Regions from separate parts of the Homo sapiens genome. Here all the other regions are linked to region 5. Evidence: promoter capture Hi-C in 16 types of primary human blood cells and fetal thymus (Javierre and others, 2016). All regions are on one chromosome and are shown on one strand. The core of a region is centred on a gene start or on the middle of the fragment in contact, and the rest is flanking DNA. Distances in the headings are between cores, read along the strand shown. Region 1 overlaps MTMR7 (myotubularin related protein 7). Region 2 overlaps ZDHHC2 (zDHHC palmitoyltransferase 2). Region 3 overlaps MTMR7 (myotubularin related protein 7). Region 4 overlaps VPS37A (VPS37A subunit of ESCRT-I). Region 5 holds the start of PCM1 (pericentriolar material 1). Region 6 overlaps VPS37A (VPS37A subunit of ESCRT-I). Region 7 overlaps ZDHHC2 (zDHHC palmitoyltransferase 2).

What was found. The method cuts DNA at HindIII sites, captures the fragments that hold promoters and counts their contacts. A CHiCAGO score of 5 or more calls a contact.
Region 1: a fragment that was not itself captured here is called in contact with the fragment with the promoter of PCM1 in region 5 in 1 of 17 cell types (neutrophils); the score reaches 12.1 in neutrophils.
Region 2: a contact is called between a fragment that was not itself captured here and the fragment with the promoter of PCM1 in region 5, in 1 of 17 cell types (neutrophils). The highest score is 6.3, in neutrophils.
Region 3: a fragment that was not itself captured here is called in contact with the fragment with the promoter of PCM1 in region 5 in 1 of 17 cell types (neutrophils); the score reaches 6.7 in neutrophils.
Region 4: a fragment that was not itself captured here is called in contact with the fragment with the promoter of PCM1 in region 5 in 9 of 17 cell types (neutrophils, total B cells, monocytes and 6 more); the score reaches 9.2 in neutrophils.
Region 6: a fragment that was not itself captured here is called in contact with the fragment with the promoter of PCM1 in region 5 in 13 of 17 cell types (neutrophils, naive B cells, monocytes and 10 more); the score reaches 12.1 in neutrophils.
Region 7: a contact is called between a fragment that was not itself captured here and the fragment with the promoter of PCM1 in region 5, in 2 of 17 cell types (neutrophils and naive B cells). The highest score is 8.0, in neutrophils.

Annotation. Positions count from the first base shown.
Region 1 is chr8:17,345,359-17,348,367 of GRCh38, reverse strand. The region is part of intron 5 of MTMR7 (myotubularin related protein 7); the gene reads left to right. The region is part of intron 1 of LOC102724838 (a long non-coding RNA gene); the gene reads right to left. Among named protein-coding and RNA genes, the nearest start is that of MTMR7, 66 kb to the left of the region's middle. The HindIII fragment of the contact is 1,689 bases long and covers 907-2,595 here.
Region 2 is chr8:17,198,516-17,201,498 of GRCh38, reverse strand. All of the region lies in intron 6 of ZDHHC2 (zDHHC palmitoyltransferase 2), which reads right to left. Among named protein-coding and RNA genes, the nearest start is that of ZDHHC2, 44 kb to the right of the region's middle. The HindIII fragment of the contact is 1,490 bases long and covers 914-2,403 here.
Region 3 is chr8:17,309,262-17,312,300 of GRCh38, reverse strand. MTMR7 (myotubularin related protein 7) reads left to right here. Exons shown (of 14, transcript NM_004686.5): 9 at 665-790; 10 at 2,975-3,024. It also overlaps a transcript of VPS37A not described here. Among named protein-coding and RNA genes, the nearest start is that of VPS37A, 64 kb to the right of the region's middle. The HindIII fragment of the contact is 1,932 bases long and covers 479-2,410 here.
Region 4 is chr8:17,279,579-17,282,935 of GRCh38, reverse strand. It overlaps VPS37A (VPS37A subunit of ESCRT-I), which reads right to left. Exons shown (of 12, transcript NM_152415.3): 7 at 2,781-2,908; 8 at 2,639-2,697; 9 at 2,493-2,561. Among named protein-coding and RNA genes, the nearest start is that of VPS37A, 34 kb to the right of the region's middle. The HindIII fragment of the contact is 672 bases long and covers 1,499-2,170 here.
Region 5 is chr8:17,921,468-17,924,657 of GRCh38, reverse strand. It overlaps PCM1 (pericentriolar material 1), which reads right to left and starts at 1,670. Exons shown (of 39, transcript NM_006197.4): 1 at 1,470-1,670. LOC124901867 reads left to right here. Exons shown (of 4, transcript XM_047422505.1): 2 at 431-501; 3 at 892-1,149; 4 at 1,312-3,190. The coding sequence ends at 1,994. RefSeq lists enhancers at 643-702, 1,853-2,302 and a silencer at 1,164-1,458. The HindIII fragment of the contact is 6,694 bases long and covers 1-3,190 here.
Region 6 is chr8:17,261,119-17,264,169 of GRCh38, reverse strand. The region is part of intron 1 of VPS37A (VPS37A subunit of ESCRT-I); the gene reads right to left. Among named protein-coding and RNA genes, the nearest start is that of VPS37A, 16 kb to the right of the region's middle. The HindIII fragment of the contact is 3,479 bases long and covers 1-3,051 here.
Region 7 is chr8:17,217,252-17,220,233 of GRCh38, reverse strand. The region is part of intron 12 of ZDHHC2 (zDHHC palmitoyltransferase 2); the gene reads right to left. Among named protein-coding and RNA genes, the nearest start is that of CNOT7, 28 kb to the left of the region's middle. The HindIII fragment of the contact is 4,516 bases long and covers 1-2,982 here.

The sequences.
Region 1 (3,009 bases), core at 502-3,001, 580 kb after region 5:
AGGGGTTTCACCATGTTGGCCAGGGTGGTCTTGAACTCCCGACCACAGGTGACCCACCTGCCTCGGCCTCACAAAGTGCTGGGATTACAGGCGTGAGCCACTGTGCCCGGCCTTATTACCTGTTTTTAAATTTCATGTTCTTTTGAGTATCTTCAGTATAAGAAATCTTTGGTTATAGAGAGCATGGGTTTTATTTTTAAAATATTATTTATAAAAGCCAGAATTGGGTTTGTCTGTAATAGAGACTCTAAGTAACAGTGGCTCTAAGAGGATACAATTTTTTTCTGTTGCGTAAAATTACCAGGGTGCGCAGTCCTAGCCTGGTAGCCTGGCCCCACCCCACTTAGCCTTCAGGTACTCAAGCTCCTTCTACCTTTCTGCTCTACCACCACCTGGATTTGGCCATGGCCTGCCTGGTGCAAGAGGTCACTTCAGTACAGTCACCACCCACACACTGCAGGTGGCAGGTGACGGAGGGCTAATGTTGTGTGCCCAGCTTTTTAAGGAAGGCTTCCAAAAACTGCCACGTGACACCTCCCTTTCATCAGAATTGCACAGGGCAGGTGTGGAAGTACAGTGTTATGGGTGGCCATTAAAATAGCTAAAACTTAGAGTTCCATTTCTGCGGAGGATAGGAAAACAAATTCGGATGAGCAAGAATGGTCTTTGGCACCCACTTTTAAAAGGTAGCAAAAAACCACCTTTAAAAAAGGTGGTTTAAAAAAACAAAATGTTCTTTGGTTCTAGCAAGGTGAGAGAGAAACTTTAGTTTTTAAGCTAGATAATATACTTCTGGATTCAAAGCCGAGTGAGGCTATAAACACAGGAGATTGTGTGAGTGTGTATCCACATGCCTGCACCTACAGCCGGGGGGTAGAGCAGGGTCTCAGTCAGATTCTAGAAGCTTCCAAAAATATCTGGAGCAATGCCAGCTTCATCAGAGTGAGCACATAGCCCTCTCTGTTGCTACTTTGAAGGAAAATATTAATTTGGTGGTGAAAGTTCTGTGAATTGGATAAAAATTATTTTTAGTTATACTCATTGCTCTTCTTCTTTTCCTAGCCTTGAATTAGGGTCTAAAGTATTTTATTAACTCTGAATGTATTTCAGCTTGCACAGAGCTGGAGCACTGGTTAGAGGCAAAGGAAGATGTGATTTTTTTTTTTTTTTTTCGGAAACAAGATCTCACTTGTCGCCCAGGCTGGAGTGCAGTGGCACAATCTTGGCTCACTGCAGCCTTGACCTCCCCAGACTCAAGTGATCTTCCCATCTCAGCCTCCCGAGTCACTGGGACCACGCGTGTGCCACCCGGCCCAGCTAATTGTTTTGCATTTTTTGTAGAGACGAGGAAAGCCATGTTGCCCAGGCTGGTCTTGAGCTCCTGTGCTCAAGTGATCTGCCTGCCTCGGCCTCCCAAAGTGCTGGGATTACAGGTGTGAGGCGCCGCCCCTTGCCTCTTTTTTTTTTTTTTTTTTTTTTTTTTATTAAGATAGGATAAATAGAGATAGGAAGTTTCATGATGTTGCACTTGAAATTAGGTTGCTGGTAACATGCACATTTTTTTTTTTGTAGCATCCATTGATTAAAGAAGAGAGAAGATGAATCCAGGAGAGGGAGAAACGATCTTTTATTGTTGTTTCAGAGGTGTTTTATTGTTGTCTGTAGAATATTTAAAAAGTGAGCACAGTGTGCCTAGCAACTCCCTTTTTATATTCTTGAGACAAGGGACATTTTACTTTTTGTCAATGTGAGTAGTATCAGGATTAAATATGTATTGTCTCAGAAAGAGAATTTTTAGCAGTTAGACCTCAGAGGCAGCTTCTTCCCCGGCTGACCTCAGACCCACATGGCTCCACGCCTGCTCCCCCAAGTGCTATTTTACTGAACCTCCAGGCCTGAAAATGAACTCACACAGCATAGTTAGAGCTTAAGAGTATTCATTGCCCATATTTAAGATTTTAAAGCAGAAACAACCTGAAGCTCTAGCTCTTCTTCCAAGGTACAGAACAGAGATGTGTCTCGAAGCAGCGCTGCGTGATCGGGTTACCCCAGGGAAGTCCCGAGTGAGCACACACCTGCCCGCCCACTCTCCCACCCCATGAACTGAAATCTATTTTGCAGGTGGAATAATGATCAAATTTGTGTTTTATAACAATGTTTACATTTTAATATCAAGGTTAATTATATAAATGCTTCTGATTTGACTAGGGCTTTTCCTAAAGGGAAGTATTATTACCAAAGGTGGATTTCTGTGCTTAATGGAAGACACTGAAATACCAGAGTAGTTATCTGTGCTGTCATTGCTCATCGATGGCCGTATAGAAAACAGGCAGTCTCCCACAAAAAGTAAACAGGTACACATTCCATAAATTTGCTGATCTGTCTTTCTTCTCTTTGGTTATTTGAGACATTTTAGGCTTAAAGAGTATGTATTCCTACCCCCAAAGAATTTATGCTTATGAATAAGGATACTACATTTTATAGTGAAAATACTGTTTCCCACGTATGCTACCAAAGGGACACTTTTGATTTTGGTGGTGAGATGACTTGGCTAATTTTGGGCACTGGGAACTGGTGATCAGATTAGGAGAAGCTTGAAGTGCACGAGATTTTATGAACCTGAAGTTCTGTTCAATATAAAGGCCCCTGTGGAGGGTCCATCTTTCCCTTTGTATCAGCTGTTACCACATGTAGTGTTAGGTTGGTGCAAAAGTAATTTCAGTTTTTGCCATTACTTTTAATGGATGTAATCACATTCTTTCACCCCTGTGGTGAGGGAGGGATTCCTGCTCTAGGTTACAGGGACAGCCAGACACACAGCACTTGACACTGGGCAGGTGAGATGAACAGTCACATATACTCACTGCCAAGGGGAGGAGGACACCACAGCCCATGAAGGGGCACATGAGGTTGCGCTGAGGAGCAGAGTGACAGCCAGGGGCTGTGAGAGGCAGGCTGTGTAGTATCAGGAGCGTGGGGTCACCCTTGGTTCCCACAGGAGGATGTGAT
Region 2 (2,983 bases), core at 409-2,908, 720 kb after region 5:
AAAAAAAAAAAAAAAAAGAGAGAGAGAGAGAAAAGGCTGCCCCTGGGTCTGAAAACATCCTAAAAGTCCTATAAGTGACTGCCATTAGATGAATACATTCACACAAAGCCTGTAGAAAAAGATTTTTTATATATTCATACGGAAACATTTCCAGGATACATTAAGTGAAGAAAACAAAAAGAAACAGATTCAATCAATAGTGTAGTCACTTGTACTAAAAATAAATAAATAAATAACAAGGGGGTTTATAGGCTATGCACACATACATTGAGATCTGAAAAGTGCCATGACGTTAACAATCCTGGTTCTCTGTGCATAGTGGAAGAAGGTGGGGAGAGGGACTGGGAAGAACATGGCTACCTGTTTTATTTTTGAATTTGGAACCAAAAGCATGTTATTACCTATAGACTTTTTTATTTAAAACTTTAATTTGAAATTAAAAAATTAAATACAATGGCTGCTCCATTCAGCTGGCACCAAGTGAGTAACAGACCCTTGGCATCAAATCCTTCACAAGTCAACATGGCTGCTGCTTTCTGCAAGGGAGTACTCAGAGCTAGGACAGTGGTGGAGACAGTGGATGCCGCAAGGGAAGTGATGGGGAAGTGAACAACGACACAGGTTAAAAGGTACCGCAGTCAGTTCATTCACCTTCCCACACTGCCACCTAAGGGTGGAGTAACAGCAGGTGGTGTGTAGGCATGCCATGGAACCTATTTTTAAAAATTCTAGGGTCTCATTTCTGTTGTTCTCCTTCACTTATTTAACAGAATCTGTGAAAACTGTAAAGGCTATCAGACTGTAAGTATCTCATGAGGCCAAATTAACTGTTGATTTAGCAAAATTACTATAATGATAAATTATTATTTTCTCTTTTTGTAATTTTGTGAGTACAGCAAGGGCATGGGAAGCTTTATAGGTATGTACTGACCTGATTTTTTTCCACCTCTCCATTCCTTGTCATCACAATCCCTTATTAAGGTCAGACAAATCAAAATCAACACTATGCCTATGATGACTACCACTCTGCTGAATATATCTGGAGTATACAGTTATCCAGAAAGGAGGGTGCTTAACATGGGTTTACCCCAAAGCAGACTCTGAGACAAGAACTTGGATGCAGTTCATTTGAGACAGGAAGGATAAAGCATTTTTTACCGGCCAGGCTGTCACTGGTTGAGGGTTGCCCCTGGAGGTATGAATGCCTTGGCACTTCTGGACTGCCTGGCTTGTGAGCTGAACGAAACTACCCAGGTAGAAGAGACCCCCTCAGGCAGAGAAGAAAAGAAACACAGGTGCCTGAATGGGGAGCTGCCAGCAGGTACGGGAGATGTTCACCAGATGCCATGAATTCAGCAGGTGGGTCATGGGGATACAGGTGGGGCACTGACAGCAGCTGCAGGGGAAGTCAACAAATGAATGTAAGGAGAATTAAGAAGACGTTGGCCAGGCATGGTGGCTCGCGCCTGTAATCCCAGCACTTTGGGAGGCCAAGGCGGGCGGATCACAAGGTCAAGAGTTCGAGACCAGCCTGGCCAATATGGTGAAACCGACTCTACTAAAAGTACAAAAATTAGCCAGGTGAGGTTACAGGCGCCTGTAGTCTGGCTACTCAGGAGGCTGAGGCAGGAGAATCGCTTGAACCCGGGAGGCAGAGGTTGCAGTGAGCTGAGATCACGCTACCGCACTCCAGCCTGGGCGACAGAGCGAGACTCTGTCTCAAAAAAAAAAAAAAAGAAGAAGAAAGAAGAAGGACGAAGAAGGAAAAAGAAGAAAGAAGGAAGAAGAAAGAAGGAAGAAGGAGAAAGAAGAAAAGAAGAAGAAGAAGGAGGGAGGAGGGAGGAGGGAGGAGGAGGAGGAGAAGAAGAAGAAAGGAAGAAGAAGAAGAAGAAAGAATAAAGAAGAAGAAAGAAGAAGAAGAAGACAAAGACGAAGAAGACGAAGACGAAGACAGAAGACGAAGACAGAAGACGAAGACGAAGACGAAGAAGAAGAAGAAGAAGAAGAAGAAGAAGAAGAAGAAGAAGAAGAAGTCTTATTAAAGACACTGGGGGAGAGGGAACACTTGTTGTAAAAAAAACCAGAAAAGAAAACTGGGGGCAGGGGGGCAAAAGAATGAGTGCAAGTATCAATTAGTACGAAGGGGGCGTTATTTATTGAGACCTTTAAGAAGAGTGCCATTCTTGTATGGGTTGACTAGCCTGAACGCTTTAAAGGAGAAAATCGAGGTGGAGAAAAGAAAGAGGTATACTGGTGAAAGATACAGGATACCATAATCCTACATTCCCCTGGGAATCTTTCCTGCTGCTAAGAAAACCATTCCCTACATATATTTCACCCTATACCTACTGTGGACCTGTGGGCATGTCTACCTTTCTGTAGAGCCATCCCTGAAAGAAAGCTTGAAGAATAAGCATTACTCACGCCCAAATCCAACCTGGCCAGCAACCTGGGCATGACTGTCAGAGATATGCCTACACTGAGATGAAAAATTATAGGAAAAGGAAGGAAAATTAACCTTACTAATCAGATCTTTCAAATAATCCTCTGTTAAATTACCTGATTTCGTGACTGAGAAATATTAGCAAATATTAATGAATTCTATGTGGAAAATCTTGTTTAAATTTATGTGTGCATTTGTATATCTGTGTAGTTGTATTCTACTCCTTAATGTCAAATTCTGTGTAAAATAAATTGTTAAAAAGCTTTTGATGACTTAATTCTTTATAAAAACCTTCCAGTGAGGTACTATGTATAATTTACTTGTACATCTTTGTGTGTATTTCTGTGAAGTATTCTGGAATCTCTGTTCATGCACATGCATACAAACAAAATCCTTTGTTCTGAGCTAACATGCGATATTAACTTTTAGGTTGTTAACCTACTGGTTTTAAAAGTATTTCATGGAAACTCCCCTAAATAAAGGCTCTTTTAAGTTAAACAAATATTAGAAACTAAATCCAAAAGTTCCTGCTATGTCAAC
Region 3 (3,039 bases), core at 195-2,694, 610 kb after region 5:
CTCCAGCTGAGACAGAGTATTAATAAACTAATAAAACTAGAATTTTAGGTAGTGATAAATGCTATGATGAAATCTCTCCCATGTTTCCCAGCGTATGTTAACTGCCAAGATATTTAGTAAAAAATGATGTGCATTTGCAATAGCAAATAGATATTCTTTTCTTACTGGAGATTTTCTGGTGTCATTTTTACTTTTGTTTTTTCCTTTCCTCAACCTTACATCCATTACTTGACGCTTACCTTTTATTTATAACTTCATAGGTCTGTAATTTATAACTTTTTTGCCTTTTCCTTTTTGGAAATGGCTGGGGCCAGTAGCAACTCCAGAATTTCAGTAAGGCTTAATGTGGAAACTCAGAGGGGAGGGAAGAGGGTTGAAGGTCCGTTTGCATAGGACGAATGCTTATGTTTAGTAAGTACATGCGCTTATTGGAGGTGACTTGAGTGGTGGCTTCTGGATAGAATGGGAAGGGAAAGCTTTAGCTGCCAGCACCAGGCCACTCTGGCTCTGCCCTAATTAGGGGGGGCCCTAAACAGACGAATGGACAGGTGTTTCGTTTTGGCTGTTTCTTTCTGTAAATATACAGTCAAACCTGGCTGTGATGAGAGGTTCTGCCTTTTTACAGCCATTCTTTGTGACTCTTTGCGGATCGTGTGTTTTCTAGGCAGTGTCAGAGGAAGGGGCAAGTGTGCTTGTTCACTGTTCTGATGGCTGGGACAGGACCGCTCAGGTGTGCTCGGTGGCAAGCCTGCTGCTGGACCCTCACTACCGGACTCTGAAGGGCTTCATGGTGAGTGTGGCCACTGGGCGATTCCCACAGGCGGTGCCTTGACCAGGAATGGACCCCTGTTTTTACAACTACTGGCAACTGCTGTTTTCTTGCCAGCATTATTTTTCTTTTAGTAGCTCAGCAAGATTAAAGGGGAAGAGATCAAGATTAATTTAATCAGCAAGATTAAAGGGGAAGGCTTGGAATAAAGAGATGAATTTCTGGGATATTGAAACCATTTCAAGTCAATGCTACTGAATGAGTTTTGGGGCAAATATAAAATATATTTGGTAGTTTGTAAGCCAATTTTATATATCATTTGCTCATAAGTATTTCAAGTTTGAGGTAACATGAATATGTAACAGAAGACTTTTTAGAAAAAATATTTTGGGAAGAAATTTTCTATATTGTGTATGCCAAAAGTCCTTGGTAGGAAAAACTGTTTTCACTTCCAGGGTATGTTTTTTAAGTAGTCCTTCACACCCCTGGATGAGAATGCTGAAAATTTCACAGCCTTTTGTTGTTGTTCTTTGCTGAAATGACGAGTATATCCTGTAGAGTTTGAGCTTTTTAGGTGGGCATCAAATGTAACGTTGCTTTCAACTACAGAGTATTGTATATAGTTGCCTGGGATGGTGAAGTTTTCACTAATCTGGTATAAGTTCCTTAAAATGAATTCACCTCTTAACCATGATTTGGTAGACAGTGCTTCAGTGAATCATGAATCCGTGCTACACAAGATGCTGACAAAGGAGTCCTAATGGAATATCTTTACTGCTGGGTCTCCATTATTGAGTAATATCAGCAACACCCTCGGACAAGAGCGAAGAGGCAGGCTCCCTCTCTGGGATGTTTTTCTTTTTTTGGAAGTGTCTGAGAACTTCCAATTACCTGTGATAGCATTGACACCTCAAAGTGATACCCTTGCTTCAGATCCCTGCTGGACTGAAGTCAGGAGGGCTGGATTGCTTCATTTGCATTTGGAGAGTAAAGAGGTTGCCAGTCACACACTGCCCTTAGGCTCTTCTCCTGCACACATGCGTTTCCATCATCAACTTGTTCTCATTGTGCCCCATTAAACTTACAACCCAAAGAAAATGTCTCGAGTTGTCAAGAACAGACTTCCACTAGTTCATATTTCTTTGTAAGGGGAAATCTCTGGCCACTTTAAAGCATTGGGGATATTGATGAGACTATCCATATTACTTGACTGAACACTTTTTAAAATCCAGGCTGGGTGTGGTAGCTCACACCTGTAATCCCAGCATTTTGGGAGGTTAAGGAGGGAGGCTTGCTGGAGCCCCAGAGTTTGAGACCAGCCTGGGCAACATGGCGAGACCTCGTCTCTATAAAAAATTAAAAAAAAATTAGCCAGGTGTGGTGGAGCCCACCTGTGGTCCCAGCTACTTGGGCTGAGGTGGGAGGATCGCTCGAGCTCAGGAGGTCAAGGGTGTAGTGAGCCATGATCTCATCACTGCACTCCAGCCTACGTGGCTGAGTGAGATCCTGTCTCAAAAATAAATTTTAAAATATAAAACAATATAAAATACAAAACCAAAATAAATACTTAAAAATAATAATCTGGACTGCCTCAGACTTAGAAATTCATGTTAACCCTAATTTCAAAGCAGGGCTGAAGCTTTGAATATACCCCAAACACCATCATTTTAGAATTCTTATAATGTGTAGAAAAGATCACTGAAAAACTTCCCAGTTGTTTTTGTAAAGAGGTTGGTAATTTACATTACACTGAGAGGCAGCATCACACATTGGTTGAGATAGGGTTTGAAGTGGAGAGACCTGGGCTGTGAAGTGGGGTCTCCTTCCTAGTAGCATGATCTTGGGCGAATATGAAACCTCTTTCCTTCGGTTTCCCCTTCTAAAAGAGTGAGAATACCTATCCTACAGTTAGAGATCATACGTAAAGCAATGTGAACAGTGCCTGGCACATAGGAAGCATTCAGCGGGTGGGGTTCCTGCATTTTTATACATCCATTTCCACTCACTGTTCCCATGGATGACCTTCAACTTTGCCTTTGCCATGTGCATCTCTATATGGGTGGATAATGCCTGTTCATGCATTTGCAGGTTACTCGAGGATGGGGACTTCTGCAAGTGCCTCTGAATTCCTCAACATTATTGGTTGTGTGGTCTCTTATTTTTCGTTTGCTTCTCTCCAAGATATTTGTATTCTTTCTTGTGTAGGTATTAATTGAAAAGGACTGGATTTCCTTTGGTCATAAGTTTAATCACCGGTAAGTAATATTTAA
Region 4 (3,357 bases), core at 585-3,084, 640 kb after region 5:
CACTGAACCAGATATTAGGTGTACAGTAGAAATGAAACAGAACAGATTCCTCCATCACGGAACCAATGGTCTAATGAAGTGGTTTCCATATGTAAGAGCGCAGAAGATTCATCATCCCCAGAAAATTTTGACTGAGAACATCTAGAAAGAAGCCTAGGAATCATTGTTTTGTGTGTGTGTGTGTGTGTGTCTTTTTTTTAAGTGTTTGAAGAGTCACTTCCAGCAATTCTTATATGAATGTTTAAGGATCAGAATAACTGTTAAAGCAGAATCTTTATTGGACATTTATATTTCTCCTTTTGTCAGTTTCCTGTTGTTTCCTTTTCCAATAGACCACTGGCATTAGTATTTGTTGTATAGGCTAAAAATATCTGTACCCTTTTTTTAACTTCAATTTTGATTTCATGATTTTTTAATATATCTGAGTTTTCAATCTGTAGAGGTAAATATGTCGAGTTTTTCCTTTATGCTCATATCTGTTTTATTATGCTAAGAAAGGCTTTTCCCACCATAATCTTAAAGAAAAAATCCTAGAAGCTAGTTGACGTTTTATGGTTTCCGCTGAAGCAGTTTATCTGTAATAAACTTTCTGTGTATTGTATGATACAATGATCTAACCTTTTTCTAAATGGATACTAAATAACCAATTTTATAATTTATTGAATCCTCAATTTTTTCCAACTGATTATTCACATACACAAGTCTATTTTTGAACTACATAGTCTGTTCCATAGAAATAATTTTCTCTTCCTATAAAACTACTATACTGTTTTAAATAATGAGGATTTACAGTGTATTCTGATACTGGGAAAGGGAGTTTTTTTCATTTTTTCTTTTTGTTCAAGCTCTTCCTGACTACCCATCTGAAAAATAAAGTTTCAGATGAACTTTAGAATAAACTGTTAAGATAAAAAAAATATTCTTGGCATTTTGATAAGAACTGTATTCAATTTCTAAGTTATTTTGGGGAGAATGAAATCTTTTTAATAATGGATCTTTCATTCAATGAATATTCTATGCTGCTCTAAATAGTCTTAGAAAATACAAAACTCAGCTCTTCTTTTATGGCATTCAATAAAGTTTCCTAACTTACTTCATTGGGTTTACTTCTAAGTACTTTACAATTTTGTTCCTATGGTAAATGAGTTGTTTTCTGTACTTCATTTTGCAGTAGTAATTGCTGGAGCAAACAGGAAAAAATTTCTCAGTTCTCTAGAATTTTTGATTGTTTATTTTTGGTAAACAACTGTTTCATTTCTTCTTTTTATGTTATACCACTTTTTTTTGGTCTTGCAGTACTCAAAACCTCCCAAACAACGTTAAACAGCAGTGATCATGAGGCATTACTCTCTTATTCCTAACATTAATGGGATCCTAGAAATGTGTAGTAATTGTGAGGTTTACTGCTGGTTTCTAGTATTCTTTTTCAAATAAGAAATTTCTATTTTTAGTTTACTAAGAGTTTGTATAAAGAATGATGTTGAGTACTATGAAAGCTTCTTCAACATTTACTAAGGTCCAGTATATATCTAACAGTACTTCAGTTGAGTCTCACAGATTTTCTGTGAAGGAGGACTGCTTAGGTTACACTCCTAACTAATGTTTCTACTTGTATGACCTCAAGAAATTTATTTAATCTCCCTGTGCCTCAGTTTCCCTATCTGTAAAATGTAAAATGGGAAAAAGTAACAATACCTATTTCATAGGATTTGGTGTAATAATGGCCCAATATACGTAAATAGCTTCATGCGGTGCAAGACATATTAATTGCTCAATGTTAGCTATTATTTCTTTATTCTGACAAATGACCGTATTATCTGAAATTCATTATAAATTTATATTCTCCTTTACCATCTTTTTTGCTGTTGTTGGTTTATGTCTATTTTATGTTTTATTTCATTGACTTTACCCAAAGTTCCTAATTTTACAGGAAACAGAATATTAACTATGAGGTTGTTATTGGTATGATACAAAGATTATGTCCTCTGGTTCCTTTTCAAAGATTCCTTTTTTTTCAGAAATATAGGTTGAATTTTATAAAATTCTTTTGATTTTCACATAACTGGATTTCTAGCATAAAACTTATTTGTAGCAGATAATACTATATATTTTTCATATATTATTCTTTTTAATTTGCGAACTTTTCATTTAAGGTATTTGTAGATAAGCTTACAAGTGAGTCGAAAGTTTTTGTTGTTATTGCTAGGTTTCACTACAAGTGTTACAATGGTTTCATAACTTACCCAGAAAAGTTATGTGTCAGGGCCTGTCATAATTTTCTGTTTTAGAAACAAATACGCTCTTATATGAGCACAAATAATGTATGATGCCTCATCACTGAGAGCTGTTCATCCACGTTTAAAGGTATCATGTCTTATAAGGTCAGATACCTCATAAATGGTTTCTGATGATAATGAAAGTGAGATCAGGACTCATGCACATAAGATTAAAAAAAAAATCTATGGCAAAGGGAAAAAAATAAACAGTCTTACCTCACTAAGTTCATGCTGCCTTTGCATCTTCTTTTCGAAAGTGGACTTCATCTGTGTAAGTAATTCATACTAAAAGAGAAAATGAAAAGGTTGTTTTATTCTATTTTTAAATTATGTAAATTTCTTCAAAATTATCACTAACTCACCTTATCTAAAACAGTTTGTCTTTTGGCTTCCAAGCTGGGCTCCAAAAGGAGATTTTTTCCTGTAAGATAAATCTCTAGTTTACTTCTAGGTAAAGATGAGATTTTTTTCAGGAAATGTGCGCTCAGGAGAGGGAAAACATACTTGCTAGTTCCTCAATACTTTTTACTAAGTCATCTTTGTCGGTAATAATTTGTTTTAGTTGAGGCAAAGTCAGAAACTGTTCTAGTAATACCTCCTCTTGTTCATTCATATCTGTGAGTTGTGACACACTAGAAACACAAAAGAAAAAATGTCAATAAATATCAGACATCGAGTTTTTCTCCATGACAACTATTTACAATTTTTCAGCTTTAGTTAACTGATAGGGTTCTAAATAATTTTTACATATACACCTAAGGCTGCCAGTTTTAACCTTAAAATCAAATAAAACATCAACCACAATGGAACATAGAGCAGTCTGTAATATATTCTTGACAGAATCTGTAAAAGTAAATTTTGGTCCAATGGATATATCGATATATCTACTTTCTTTAAAAATCACAACCGTGGGGAAGTGTTCACAGTTATACAGTGACCTGAAATTAAAAATAAAGTCAACTTAACTCAGGTAAAGAACAATGTATGAAACTAAGGAGCTTATTCAGCTTAGGTTTCTTAAAATAGGACAGCAGTAATATAGTTAAGTATTTTTTTCTTGTTCTTAATTCTGTTTAACTTA
Region 5 (3,190 bases), core at 421-2,920:
CAGAATAAAAAATACTTCAGTTTTGGTCTAAAGTATGTTTAGAAAGATCAAAAGAAGGGGAAAAATATAACTTATTCATATTTTAAATTTAAGTTACCTCAATTCTTTTGGAAAATAGTGTGATATGCATAAATGCTTAAATCCCCTAAACTTCTGAAATCTTACCAAACAGCAAAGTGATATCTATTTCGGAACAGTGTAACAAAGATGGTTAGCCCTAACTATCCTTTAATAGTCTATGCCAAAGTTTACTCCTCTGATTGATCGAGCTTCCTGTTACTCAAACTATGTAACAACCTCGTATATCCGATGATTTTAAAAATGTTTGCTCATTTAAAAGCTACTGTACTTCATAATAAAATAACCTCGTCACTACATAAATACCAGGTTTACCTTCAATTCAAAAACTCTGTATTATATTGGTGTTCAGGGGTCCTCACCAGGAAGGTGCTAGGGAAAGAAAGGAGCAGGTGCACCCGAGGCTCTGCAACACCCACTCCGGTAACCAGAGAACACCAGCAGGCGGAGTCTGGAAAGCGGTTATGGGGCGGGGGTGGTAGGGGCGCCCAGAAAGCCCGCTCCTTCCAGCGCCCAAACACGAACCGTCACCCGTAAGACACACAATACAGACCTCAACTCGCTCAAAAAAACAAAACAAAACAAAAAAAATTAAACCAGGCGAGTTCCTGGGGAGTAGGCTGAGGGATGCAAAGTTGGCGCGCCCAGCCTCCCTGGCGGGGCCTAATCCCCAAACGCCAGTTTCTGTAAACCAAACAACGTTTCCCCCAGTCCCACTTGGCATTTAGTCTTTCCCGGTTCTAGGCCCAATTCTAACTAGATAGGTAGGAAGGGAGAAAGAAGGGGCAATAATTACTCCATTAACCTTCCCAGGAACGCCTCCCCCGGCCCATCGGCTCCCACAGCACCAGAGACGGCGGAAATCCTGCAGCTCACAGCCCAACTGCAACTCTTCAGAGTCGCGTCGCTCCTCATCCGCCCTTCTACACCCCAAACTCTGGACACCGAGAGTTCCACAGAGGGAACGCGGGGAAGAACTATGGCCACCAAGGCCTGTTTCTCTAAGAACTCGACCCAGTGCCCCTAGCACCCAAACCAGAGTCCCCGCTCCGCTTCCTCCGCCCGCAAGGGGTATAGCCGGAGCCACCGGGACGCAGAACAGCCTCCCCGACAGGGCCAGCAGGAGGGGCGAGGAGGCAAGAAGGGAGTCCTGCAATCACCAACGCGTCGCGAGGTGCTCACCCGGGGATCCCGGCGATCAGTCCTGAGGGAGCGGGCGGACTGACCGCCTAGGGCACGGGAAGCCCGGGGCAGGAAGACCCGGGAACCTACAGAGGAGGCGTGGGCCCGTGGCCAGACCCAACAGGGCCGAGTGTCCCGGAGCCGTTACTCTCCCGCCTCTGGGGCGCGCCGCCCTAGGTTGCCAAGGGCTGGGGACGCGCAGGCATTACCTCTACAAGAAGCAGCCTCTCCTGTCAAAGGCAGAGCGACAGTCAGCCCCCACGACCCGCCGCCGGCAGCGGTCGGCCCTCGGAGACCGCAGCAGAGAGGCCCACACGTTTCCTGGCTGCCTCGGCCCCAGTGGCCGCCTTTTCGACCTCAGCTACGCAGCGCCAACCGCCGCAGCCACCGCCATCTTAGGATCTCATTGTGGTGGGAGAAGAGGGGCGGGGGTACTGCAGAGGGGGCAACGCGCGGCGGGACATGCGCCGTCTCCTCGGCAACGGCCGCGCGGGGGCGAGAACTCGCCCGGGCGGGAGCCGCAATGCGAGCTAGACTGGAGTCATGTGACCCGCCGGAGTCTGTGGTGTCGCTTCTGGCTCTTTAAGCCGAAAAGAGATTACACCAACGAATCCGCCCCCACCCGCCCAGGAACTATGTATCCCAGAATGCCAACTAGACCTCGCGTTCTAAACGCCTGCCGGCCACAGGTGGAGGACTACAAATCCCAGCATGCCGTGCGCTTCCGGCGCTGATCGCGGAGCGTGGGGCCCTAGGCCTATGCGGAAGTGCATTGATCCCTCAGCCCGTGGAGAAAGAGCGGAGGCGCTGTGCGGTTTTCCGTGGGGGTGTCAGCTCCGGCCCGTGCCGGAAGAAGGAGCCAAGACCGGGATCGCTTTTTTGCCCCTTCCTCACCCCACATTCGGTCACGAAGAGGTGGAAACAAAAGGACACTTACAATGTAGTCCAACCTCCTGATTTTACATATGAGGGGATTGTTCCACGGAAGTTAAACAATTTGCCAGACGTCATTATGTATCTACTGAGTGAGAGAATCATAAATATTGTTGATAGTTAACGCCACTTTTGGTTAATGTCCCTTTTCCTTAAAAGAGCCAGATGATTTTAATCCAAACTTAATTTCAGTAAATTTTCTCTGAACTATCTTTTTATTTATACTCTCCTGTTACAGCTCTATTAAGATTAATAAATTGGCAGGTCCTCCCTTTAAAAAACAAAAATCAATAAAGTCACAAGGCCTTCAATGTGCCTGACTGGAAAGGTAAAACACCTGTCAGTTTTAGTTGAGTGCAAGGGCATTCTTCTAGTTTTACGCAGTTTATAATTATGGAATAACTTTTTAAGCAAAATAAAGGTAAAAAGAAGAATTGCATTCTGGGTTTCAACAACAAAAACAAATTGTTCCCAAAATAGTAGGTCTGCATCTCAGTACGCAATTCACATAAAGCTCTTCTATCCCACTGCAATCTGCCACCGTAGGTTCAGTCGTGAGTGCATTGATCGTTGGTCAGACACTTTTTCCTCATATTCTGTGTGTGTATCGCTAACTACTGCGGTAGCAAAAATATAGTCCCTGCCCTTGAAGAGCTCATATTTTAGTGAAGGATGCGGAAGTGGAGTGTGATGTAAATAAAGTTTGTGTTGTAAGAAAAAGTGCTGTGGGAGCTCAGAACACAGCAGCTAAACGCTCAGGTGTTTATTGTAGTCCAGAATGCCCTATCCTAATTCCACCACTCCAAGATCCTGGACAAGCGACGTGCCTTTCTGAGCCTTAATTGCCCCATCTATGAAATGAGGGGGAAGGAATGATACTGCCTACCTTGAAAGGATTTTTTAAAAAATGTTCTCAGAGTTTGTTTTATGCCAGGCACACTGTAAAGCACTTCGGCTGTTGTGATTTTCTTGATCCTCACAGTTACCCTGAAGAGGC
Region 6 (3,051 bases), core at 129-2,628, 660 kb after region 5:
CATGGGTAAGTTAAGCCTTTTCTCTCAAATGGGAAAGGGAGATGTTAAAAAAAATCTACCCACCTAAAAGATTTGTTAGATTACGCAAAATAATGCATGTAAATCCCCCAACACAGTACCAGGCAAATAAGTGTTCAATAAATGTTAGCTATTATTAAATAGGCATGTAGAACATGGAGGTTGGTCCCTCTCTAGATTTATAGTATTAAAGTTTTTTGTTTGTCTTTTTGACACGGAGTTTCGCTCTGTTGCCCAGGCTGGAGTGTGGTGACACGATCTTGGCTCACTAGAATTTCTGCCTCCTGGGTTCAAGCAATTCTCTTGCCTCAGCCTCATGAGTAGCTGGGACTACAGGTGTGTGCCACCACACCCGGTTATATATATATTTTGTAGATAAGGGGTTTCACCATGCTGGCTAGGCTGGTCTCGAATTCCTGACCTCAAGCGATCCACCTGCCTTGGCCTTCCAATGAAGTTTTAACTCCTCAGTTTTTCAGACATTGTTCAGATTTTTATAGAAAATTTTCATTGAAAACATATTAAAATAAATTTGATTTAAATAATTTTTATCTAAATAATTGGTTAGAAATGTCCAATTCATTTTCTCCAGTTATACTGATGACAGTTCCTAAAATTTTTTTTATGAGTTTTCTTCACAAACTAAGTATCACAAATAACAGAAGGTGATACTTATAATATTAATGAGAGCTGAACCATCAACAAATTCCAAAACAAGTTAATCATGGCAATCTAGAAATGCATTTTGATTAGCTGCATTAAACAACAGATAAGTACTTGTTTTACTTAATTAAAACAGGAATAATTCCCTGAATATTCATCACAAATGTGATTTTGAATGTTGCTATTTTAATACTTTTAAAAAACTTATTCCAAAACATTCATTCTCATTAAAAAAAAGTTGCCAAAAAACCACTGTAAACATATTGCTCTATAATCTTCTAAACTTCTTTGCACATTCATAGCCTCATTTAAAATAAAAATATAATTACACTGTACATCAATTTTGTAAGTTACTCTTTTCTCACTCAATTGTGATTATCTTTCCAAATTAGTAAATGTTATTTTACAATATCTTTTTTTTTTTTTTTTGAGATGGGGTTTCACTCAGTCATCAGGCTGGAGTGCAATGGCGAGATCTCGGCTCACTGCAACCTCTGCCTCCCGGGTTCAACCGATTCTCCTGCCTCAGTCTCCTGAGTAGCTGGGACTACAGGTGCACACCACCACACCCAGCTAATTTTTGTATTTTTAGTAGAGACGGGGTTTCACCATGTTGGCCAGGATGATCTCAATCTCTTGACCTCGTGATCTGCCCGCCTCGGCCTCCCAAAGTGCTAGGATTACAGGCGTGAGTCACCGTGTCCGGCCTACAATATAATTTTTAATGGCTGCATAATGTTGTAGTATATGGTCATACTATTATTTAAGCTATTTTCTACTATTAGATATTTAGATTGTTTGCAGCTTTTATTCTTACAAACCACACTTTGATAAACATTCTTATAACCATATCTTTATACTGACAGTGGTACTATTTTCAACATAAATACACACACACACACACACACACACACATACTTTAAAGTAATATTTTAATCACACCACAAGAGAAAATTTAAATGACCTGCAAATTAATAATTTCATTTTCTAGTTTCTCTGGGAGAAGAGAATTACTATGGTTTTACCTCAGTGGCTCTGAATTTGTTGGGGCTAAATAAAGCTGTAATAATATATCACTTTGTTATTAAGAATATAGATTAACTGGCATCCTCATTTCTTTGATAGTCCCCCAAATGGAAACAAATAGACCTTAATATGCTTTAGAGAATTCAAGTTCCAAAATGGTGTCACAGAAGCAAGCTGGCTTCACTTAATGTCACAGAAAACAACAAATATGTAACACTAAGATTAACACCAACGACATCCCAGAACTCAAATATGAGGATCAGTCACTTCTCAGGGCCACAGAGAAGTGAAAAAACTCTGAGCAGATGGTAAGAGAATCGGACTTCCATACCTGTGATGCCTCTCCCCACAATCTTCCCAGCATCAAGCATACAAAAAATTTCCCCTCGACTCACGATTTCTACACTGGAAAAAGTAAGATCGAGGTGAACAATCGGCTTTCCCACCATTTTTGGTTCCCTGGCAGGAGACTCATCCCTGCCTCAACTCACCAGAAGCATCATGAGGACTGAAGGGAGAAATATTCCTGAGGACAGCCAGAGACAAAGGGGAGAGGCAAGACTACCATCCTCAACCCTGGAAACTGCCCTGTCTGCAGCCAAAGAAAACACCAAATCAGAGTGCCTATTCAGCAGCTCCATGTTGTAGGAGATATATTCCACAGAAACCATGGGCAGGAACCGTTTGCCAGCCTTCCCACACTGTTGGGATATCCCCTTTGGGAGCTCCCCCATTAGAGATGGGCACTGCTCCAGGTACTTATTAGAGCCAAGGCAAACCTGGGTTTAAAGTGCCACTGAGAACCAAAAAGGAGGCAGAAACCTTACAGTAAAGAGTCTTTAAGCAAATACATTCAATAAAACCAAAACAAGCCAGAGAGAGAAGACCAGAATAAATAACTAATTCGTCAAAGTAAAGACATAGACGCACATCCGCAGGAAACAAGAGCAAACAGGGAGCCTGACTTCCCTAAGCGGATGAAACAAAGAACAAATGACTGACCCTAATGAGATAATAATATGTAAGCTCTCTGAACAAGAATTTAAATAGTAGATTTAAGGAAACTCAGTGATCTCCAAGATAAAACAAAAAATTCAGAAATTTATCAGAGAAATTTAACAAAGAGATTTAAGTAATAATAAACAATTAAACAGAAATGTTGGAACTGAGAAATATGTTTGCTGAACTGAAATACATTAGAGGCTCTCCATGGCAGAATGGATCAGGCAGAAGAAACAATCAGTAAACCTGAAGACAGGTTATTAGAAAATACACAGTAAGAGAAAGAAGAAAAAAGACTGAAAAGAAATGAAGACCACCTACGAAATACAGAATATTGCCTCA
Region 7 (2,982 bases), core at 369-2,868, 700 kb after region 5:
GAAACTACTATGTTAACCATAAACACGCAAAACAAACCAACTCATTTCATAATCTGTTTCAATAATATCCCTCATTCAAAACTGTTTACTATGCTAGCAGGCTCAGTAGACGTGCTCTTGAATATGGAACTCTACATCAATACTGCTCAAACTTTAATATGCATATACGAAAGGATCCTATTAAAATGCAAAAAAAAAAATTGCAGACTCTGATTCAGTAGGTCTAGGATAAGGCCTAAGATTCTGCATTTCTATTAATCTTCCAGGTCATGACAATGTTGCTGGTTTGGGGCTTCAATGTGAGTGGCAGGGTTCTATGTTGTTAGTTCTGCATTCATCTGAGGCTGAATGGAGTTTAGGAGTGGCAACTGAGTCAGGAAGGACATTTAGGGAAATGATTTTGAAACTTCATGTGCATAGAAGCACAGCTTTGTTTTGTTTTGTTTTGTTTTTTGAGACAGGGCCTCACTCTGTCACCCAGGCTGGAGTGCAGTGATGCGATCTCCATCTCAGCTTACTGGAAATTCCGCCTCCCTGGCTCAAGTCATCCTCTCATCCTCCCACCTCAGCCTCTGGAGTGGCTGGGACCACAGGCACATGCCACCACACCCAGCTAATTTTTTTTCTTTTTGTATTTTTGGTAGAGACGGGGTTTCACCATGTTGCTCAGGCTGGTCTTCAACTCCTTAGCTCAAGCAATCTGCTTGCCTTGGCCTCCGCAAGTGCTGAAATTACAAGTGTGAGCCACCACGCCTGGCCAGCATTTTTTATTTATACCATATGATAGGAAAGGTTGGTAAGCTAAATTTAATTTACTTTTTAGTACTAACTATGGGTTTAGGCACATTATAACCATCTGGAAACTGCTGAACAAACAAATATTTTATAAAAAGGTGACATCATTTACTATTGTAGTTCAAAAATAGGAGAAAAAATATGAAGTGTTTTTTTTCTGTTTTTTTTTTTTTTTTTTTTTTTTTTAGAGTCTTGCTCTGTCACCCAAGCTCCCAGGCTGGAGTGCAATGGCACGATTTTGGCTCACTGCAACCTCTGCCTTCTGGGTTCAAGCAATTCTCCTGCCTCAGCCTCCTGAGTAGGTGGGATTACAGGTGCGCCACACCACATCCGTCTAATTTTTGTATTTTTAGTAGAGATGGGGTTTCACCTTGTTGGTTAGGCTGGTCTTGAGCTCCTGACATTGTGATCCACCCATCTCAGCCTCCCAAAGTGCTGGGATTACCAGGCGTGAGCCACCGCGCCCGGCCAATATGAAGATATTTAATATAAATTAGGCACATCAGTATCAAACTATTATTTGATATAAATACAACTGGAATGAATTGCAAATCTGAGATGTAAAGCAGGAAAAAATTATTTTTAAAAGTCTAGTTTCTATTAGCTACTTTAGGGAAAGTTTAAGAAAACAAAACATGTTACTGCAACTGGTTGTATCGATAGAATAGAAAACATGACATCAGAAAATCGGGTATTTTTAGATCTATAGCGCTGATTCATGCTGCCATTTTGTGATTATGCCTAATCATGCCATATTTGAATTAATAAAATCAAGTTTCTGTCAGATTTTTAATTTCAATGTTTTAATTTTGTCACTTATCCATCAAATGTTGAGAAACTACTATGTGTCTGGCATTGTGCAAGGTGTTGGAGATAAATAACCACAATACTGGTATTGTCAAAATACTGGGAAGTCTCGATGGCTTTTATATAATATTACCATGTAAATATGTAAAACACTTAACACACAGAAAAATTCCTAATAGCACTGACCTTAAAAACAATGGTTATTGCAACTGATGATTTCAAAATATTGAAAAAAATCCTGTGAAATTCTATGTCTTACAGAACTATGTTCTGTATATTTTATTTGTGGTATTGGCTGGTAGTGACTCATATTTGCTATAGCTATACTCTAAAATTACATTCATAGTTACATTCTAAAATTATTTTCAGAAATTTAATAATGTCTTTGCTATTTAATCAAATTCAGATGAAATTTTCACTATTTTAACCAGTTATAGTCAGTCTGACCTACTGTAGCAACAGGTATTCAGAGCTGATCCTGCTCTTCCCAAAATCAGATACTAGTCAGCTGGCAAATTGCCAGGTCAGCATTTTGCTGACAATACATGGCTAACTTACCAAAACCAGAACAGACAAATAAAAACAGATATCCATGAACTTTGATGCAAATCATTTTGTTTTACAAGTGAATCTCTTGCTTTTCATAGACTTTAGGATTCTAGATTGCCGTTATGTAAAGAGAGAGTTATCTTGCTATCTTTAATATTCAGCTCGGTAAACTGTTTATTATATAGTTGTTTGTTCCAAAGGGGTTCCTTATTGTAGCTTTTTATTGACTGCAGGCTTACAAACAGATCATATTTTAAAGAAACTGATTTGGAACTGCAGGTTTAAAAAAAAATAAGGCTTAAAGAAAATGATTTGGAACACCTATTATTTTAAGGTTAACACATGCTATAAGGCCCTACTATGACCCAAAAATGGGAATGACAGTGTGCTAATGAGTACATTAATGAGATATAATTATATTGCACTTCGACTTAGAGTTTCCTAATGGATGGTCAAGGATATGACCACTGTATATTCTGAAAGATGAAGAAAAATTAAAAATAATTATTCTAACTTCCTATAAAATGACAAGATAATTTTTACATATAGTTCAGTATTTTAGGATTGATCCCTACCACTTAATGCATTAATATAAAATGACTCTTGTTCATCAACTTATTTATATAATTAATCAAGTTAACACAAATACCAGCTAATACTGAAGCTAGGTCTGCACTCAGAAGCCCCAGCATGGCTAATGCAATCTCACAAGTCAGGTAAAAGATCTTCTATATGAATCACTCACAAATTATTAAAAATGTTTATGGAAACTATTTGCCCTAATAAAATTAGAAGACTGTTAAAAATATAAAACAATAAAGGGAAAATTAT